Regions from separate parts of the Homo sapiens genome. Here region 2 is linked to region 1. Evidence: promoter capture Hi-C in 16 types of primary human blood cells and fetal thymus (Javierre and others, 2016). All regions are on one chromosome and are shown on one strand. The core of a region is centred on a gene start or on the middle of the fragment in contact, and the rest is flanking DNA. Distances in the headings are between cores, read along the strand shown.

Evidence for each region. The method cuts DNA at HindIII sites, captures the fragments that hold promoters and counts their contacts. A CHiCAGO score of 5 or more calls a contact.
Region 2: a contact is called between a fragment that was not itself captured here and the fragment with the promoter of ALOX5AP in region 1, in 1 of 17 cell types (neutrophils). The highest score is 5.1, in neutrophils.

Annotation. Positions count from the first base shown.
Region 1 is chr13:30,733,800-30,736,975 of GRCh38, forward strand. It overlaps ALOX5AP (arachidonate 5-lipoxygenase activating protein), which reads left to right and starts at 1,744. Exons shown (of 5, transcript NM_001629.4): 1 at 1,744-1,876. The coding sequence starts at 1,807. The region is part of intron 2 of LOC124903146 (a long non-coding RNA gene); the gene reads right to left. The HindIII fragment of the contact is 8,013 bases long and covers 1-3,176 here.
Region 2 is chr13:30,607,640-30,610,815 of GRCh38, forward strand. It overlaps a transcript of HMGB1 not described here. Among named protein-coding and RNA genes, the nearest start is that of USPL1, 8.7 kb to the right of the region's middle. RefSeq lists an enhancer at 260-319. The HindIII fragment of the contact is 4,747 bases long and covers 1-3,176 here.

The DNA.
Region 1 (3,176 bases), core at 494-2,993:
CCATCTTCTCCTGCCCTTGGACACTGGAGCCCCTTGTTCTCCAGCTTTTGGATTCAGACTGGGTCTTGCACCATTGCCCTCCATCTTCTCCTGCCCTTGGACACTGGAGCCCCTTGTTCTCCAGCTTTTGGATTCAGACTGGGTCTTGCACCATTGCCCTCCTTGATGCTCAGGCCTTTGAATGCAGACTGGTCTCCACCAGCAGCTTTTCTGAGTCTCCAGCTTGCAGATGGCAAACCATGAAACTTCATGGTGTCCATGAGCATGTGAACCAATTTCTATTATAAATCTGCAATATATATATATGAGGAGACTTATTTATATATTGGTTCAGTTTCTCTGGAGAGCCTTGGCTAATATAAAGTCTATACTCTACAAAGTGCCCTAGGTACTCAGGGAGTACCCAAGTGTGTCATGACCAGCCCGACAGCCCTGGCTGCTGGCTTCCCCGCACACAACTCTGCACGCTGCCTTCATCAGCCTTTCTCTCTCAGCTGAACCGAGGGCATTGAAGCGGGCCTCTGGCACTGTACCTATGAGGGAGCAATATCTTCCCCTACACTGACCTCTTCCGTGCCGAGATGCAGCCCTCCCTGCTGCCACTAGTTACAGTGGTCCATGTTCCCTTTCAAAGTGAAGTTTTGATAAAAGCACCTCTTAACCAATGCCAAATAGCTAAGTCTGGGACAAAGATTGCAGGTATTTTGCATTTTCCATGTAACCTCAGAGGGATTGCCATTCACACTGATCTGAGCTGCAGAATACCAGGCAGCCACCTCACCCACCCAGCAGGTCCACTCTTATACTTTCTCAGAAAGCACAGCCACTCTACTCTTATTCAGTTGAAAAGAATTTCCAGGAAGGTGTTTCTGCGATTGCCTCAGAAAAGTCAGTTCCCTTTGGGAATTTCCCTTAGGGATCATCTGTAACTCCATTTCTGCCTTTTACCTGAATTCTTTGGTTTGGTTTGAATTCTTTGGTTTAATTTATGAATTCCCTTTATTACTTTTCTCTGAAGAAATGGAGATATCAGCTGTCCCTCCCCACTGCCATTTATTCCTTCCTTCATTCAAACCTTATGTGGCTGCTACTTACCGTGTGTTAAGTGTTCACTTTTTTTCTTGGAATTCAAAAAAAGAAGGACAGTATTTGGGGCACAGATCTTTTGGTGTTCTATACATTTTTTTAAAGTTTCATTTTACATTTGTGTGTGCGTGTGTGTGTGTGTGTGAGACAGTCTTGCTCTGTTGCCCAGGCTGGAGTGCAGTGGCATAATCATTGGCTCACTGTAGCCTCAAAGTCCTGGGCCCAAGCAATCTTCCCACCTCAGCCACCCAAAATGCTGGGGTTACAGGTTTATGCCACTCTGTCTGACCTGAAAGTTTTGGGTTTACTTTCCCTTCTTTCTCTTTGCTGAAGTCAGAGATGATGGCAGCTTCCAGATTCTCTGGTGCCTGTGCTGGGCTCGTGCTGGTCATGGTCTTGGGTCCAGGATTCATTCTGGAGACTCTCAGGGAAGTTTCCCATGACAAGGAAATGTAGGAGAGTGTGCTGGCTTTGCGTGCTCCTCTGCCAAGCCCTGCTTCTCCTGGTGGGACACACTGAACCACAGCCAGGGCATTTTGGTGGTTAGTTAAAAAAAAAAAAAAAAAAAAAAAAAGGAAGAAGAAGGCACTGTGTAATTGTGCCGGGGATCTTCAGAAATTGTAATGATGAAAGAGTGCAAGCTCTCACTTCCCCTTCCTGTACAGGGCAGGTTGTGCAGCTGGAGGCAGAGCAGTCCTCTCTGGGGAGCCTGAAGCAAACATGGATCAAGAAACTGTAGGCAATGTTGTCCTGTTGGCCATCGTCACCCTCATCAGCGTGGTCCAGAATGGTAAGGAAAGCCCTTCACTCAGGGAAGAACAGAAGGGGAGATTTTCTTTGATGGTTGTTTGGAAGTCAGGCTTAAACAATTGTGTCTGTGTGTGCGCATGCACAAACACTTTTACCTTATCTTTATTTTCTTCTTTTTATTTGAATGTATAGGGTTGTGTGTATTTCTGTGTAAATTTGGGGTTTTCCTCCTCTTAGTCTTTCACTTTTGTGGTGATTACCAGTCCCATTTTTAGAGCCAGGGCTGCAACTTGAAGGTTTTGCTAAAACCCTCACCGAAGTGTCTATGATCAGCATTTTAACTATTAATTAATGTGGCCAGGCAAGGGGTGGAAGGTGAGAAGACTAGAAAGGGAACATGATATACACATTTACTCAGATACTGGGCTTTTCTAACATCTGCAGTGCAATTGAAGTTACCAGTCATCTGCAGTCTAAAAAGAAAGTGATTTTGGGAGGTGCGTAGAAAAAATCATCTTATTATTTTTCCTCTATATTACTTTTTTCTTTTTTTCTCCTGAAGAAACTTTTTTTTTTGGTGATACCTTCTTTTTCTCTAGCACGTATAATTTTGGAAGCATTTTTCATATGCAGTGTATACTTCAGAAAGAGAGAGAGAGAGAGGAAAATTGTCCTGTTCAGCGTTTGCATTTCCATTATTCCTGCTATTAGTTAAAAACAACAACAACAACAAAAAACAAGCAGGATACCTAGATCTGGAAAAGGGAGAATTGTGTAGAGCTGTCTTCCTAAAGTTCTGAGTTAGGGCTGCCTCAGACCACTTTCATAACTATCTCCAGTGGCTTTGTGTTTTATATTTATTAAGATAGAGAAAAAAAGAGTAATTACTAAGGGCAGCTGCTGTAGCTTTATGGTGATTACTGAACATTGACATGCTGTCACGTTTTTGGAACTTTGAGTATTTAATCACTTTGGGATATTCTATTTTCCCCCATCTTGAGTGTGGACAGATGCTGGTGATGTAGCCTTCTGGGCACAGAGCAAGCCTCCCCCTCAGCCTCTGCACCAGAAAGGCTCAGCTTCACACACTCCAAGTATGTTTTCTACAAGAACTACACTTTGTGGCTTTCTGACCCAAACATTTTTATACTAAATTACACACAACAAAGTTGTAGCTCAGAGAGGGAACAAATGGCTTATTTAGGCCACCATTTTCTTGAGCCATTATGATTTCACACAGGGCTCCCTTGGCCCTGTAAATTGGCAAGGATTCCATTATTCAACCCGCATACATGTACAGAGACCCTGCTCTGGCCCAGATAGTATTCTGGGTACAGGCG
Region 2 (3,176 bases), core at 506-3,005, 130 kb before region 1:
AAATCACCTGAACTTTCACAGACTATCTAGAAGAACATGTAACCAGAGTAGTTCTTGATCATGCTATATAAATTACTGATACAGAAATAGAGCTAGACAGGAAGGGGCTGGTAGTAGAGAATCATCCTCTGGACATATTCTCACAGCCTAATCTCTAGCTAGCAAATTTTATAATATATATAAAAATACAATTATTTCACAAAATTACCATGAAACGATTTTATTGGGATATTAGACATTACTGAATTACTTGTTCTGTGAGGTATACAGTGAAATTAACATGTTATAAAATTGTGGTAGCCGGCCCCCAAGATGGCCTCCAATGAATCCTTCACCTCTTGGTATTCATACCTTTGTGTAGGTAGGTCTGTGTAACCCATAGAATACAGCACAGTGACAGTAGGTCACTTCCGAGGTTAGGTTGTGAAAGACACTGTGGTTTCTGCCTCTCTCTCAGATCACGTGCTCTGGGGGAAAAGCCAGGTGTCATTTTGTGAAGACACTCAAGCAGCCTTTAGATGACTGCAACCACATAAGAGGCTCCGAACTGGAGCCACTCAGCTAAACCACTCCCAGATTCCTGACCATGTATCATTTCATACACAATGTATGAAATGACAAATGTCTGTTGTTTTAAGCTGTTTGGGGAATAATTTGTTACATAACAAAATATAACTAATACAATAATACATACTGATTTAACTGAAGTTGTAACTTCATAACTTATTTAGGTACTAAAAATCACAGCAACCCGATGCAAAGTACTAAAAAAAAAATCCATTAATACCTATTGAGTACTGTTGAGGGCATGAGGAAAGCTCTTTCATACTCCACATAAAACTTCCTTACCGTAATATTCATGGCTGACCTCTACTCTTAACTCCTTTCTAGGATAGGAGGGGCTAACTGATCTGACAGCAAGTTTGGGAGAAAAAATTCTGAGGCTCGGCCAACTTCCTCTCTTCTTTCCATTTGGGATTTGGCTGACTGAAGAGGGTCATTTGTTTTGGCCTGCTCTCTTACACAGTAAATGTAGTGGGACAAGCTCTATTCTTGTTGATAGAAAAACTCGAATTTTAAATCTGCCTAGTTCTTTGCAGCTCGTTGTTGCTCCAAATCTCAGCTACCTTTTGAAACAACTTTTTTCAGTAAACTTAATTTCAATCTTCATGTGATTTAACTGGATCCAAACACAGGCAGATAAAAAAGGTGGGGCATTACTTATCAACCTCTAAACTAAGTTTAATTTTGTGCCCTCATGGAGTTTATAGTATATTTGAGGTTTAAACTAAAACACCTGGTTTTAAACAGAAACTATAAAAAACACGATTAATAGGTGAGGCCGGGCGCGGCGGCTCACGCCTGTAATCCCAGCACTTGGGGAGGCCAAGGCGGGTGGATCACGAGGTCAGGAGATCAAGACCATCCTGGCTAACACGGTGTGAAACCCCGTCTCTACTAAAAATACAAAAAATTAGCCCGGCGTAGTGGTGGGAGCCTGTAGTCCCAGCTACTCAGGACGCTGAGGCAGGAGAATGGCGTGAACCCGGAAGGCGGAGCTTGCAGTGAGCCATTGCGCCACTGCACTCCAGCCTGGGTGACAGAGCCAGACTCCGTCTCAAAAAAACAAACAAACAAAAAACAAATAGGTGAAAGGCCGTGATCATTGGTAAGCGTAAGAAAATCTGAGGGAGAAAAAAATATAGATGCCCAGGCCCCATGCCAAACTCATGGAATCATGCATGAAACCCAAGCAGCTGCAGTTTTAACAAGTTCCCAATATATAGTTGACCCCTGAACAATGCAGGTTTGAACTGCCTGGGTCCACTTATAAAATGGATTTGATTTTTTTCAATAAAAGTTACACCGAGTGTGCCTGCCTCTCCTCCCTCCCTCCCTACATGCTCCTGCTCTTAAGCCTCTGCCATGAGGCTTAAGACAGCAAGAACAACCCGTCCTGTTTATTTCAATAGTTTTGGGGGGTGCAGGTGGTTTTTGGTTACATGGATAAGTTCTTTAGTGGTGATTTCTGAGATTTTAGTGCAACTGTCACCTGAGCAGTGTACACTGTATCCAACATGTAGTCTTTTAACCCCCATCCAACCTTCTTCCCCAACCCGAATCCCCAAAGTCCACTGTATGATTCTTATGCCTCTGTGTTTTTATAGCTTAGCTCCCACTTTTAAGTGAGAACATACCATTTTTGGTTTCCCATTCCTGAGCTACTTCACTTAGAATACTGGCCTCCAGCTCCATCCAAATTGCTGCAAAAGATATTATTTCGTTCCTTTGTATGGATGAATAGTATTCCACGATGTACATAAACATTTTCTTTATCCACTCAGCTCCTCTTCAGTCTACTCAATGTGAAGGTGACAAGGACGAAGATCTTTATGATGATCCATTTCCACTTAATGATTAGTAAATATACTTACTTTTCCTTATGATTTTCTTAGTAACTTTTTTTCTCTAACTTACTTTATTGTAAGAATACAGTATATAACACATATGACATACAAAATACGTTAGTCAACAATATATGCTATCAGTAAACTTCCAGTCATCAGTGGGCTATTAGCAGCTACGTTTTTTGGGCAGTCAAAAGCATGGGGAAGGAGAGGGTGGTCCCTAACCCCTGTGTTGCTCAAGGGTCAATTGTAATAATACCCATTTAAGAATCCATGGTATATATGGTAAGTGCAACAACTCTAGAAGAGAGTGCTAGGAGTTGGAAAAGGAAAGAGAAAACAGAATTTAAAGCAATCTGTAAAGGACATGCAGGGTTTAGATGAGGTGGAAGGGTGAGGGAAAACCAACATCTGCTGTGAGGGCATATTAACTGCCAGACATTGTTCTATGTCTTACCTCATTTAAGAGAATTTCATTTCACACATGGAAAAACTGAAGCCCAGAGAGGTTAAATAATTTGCCTGAGGCCAAAATTAGTTAAATAACAGAAGTGGGATTAGTAGATGTTTTCATTTTATCAGTGAAACTGAGCCTCAGGGAGGTTAAATATTTTGTATGAAGTAACAAAACTGAGATTAATATATGGCCAAGTTTAAATGAGATCTGTAAATCTAATGCCTACACTAAAACAAAAAAAAAAAAGTGGGAAGAAAAGGTCTATATTGCTTAGCAAAACAGAGGTAGGGAAGCAAAAATAAACTTACAAA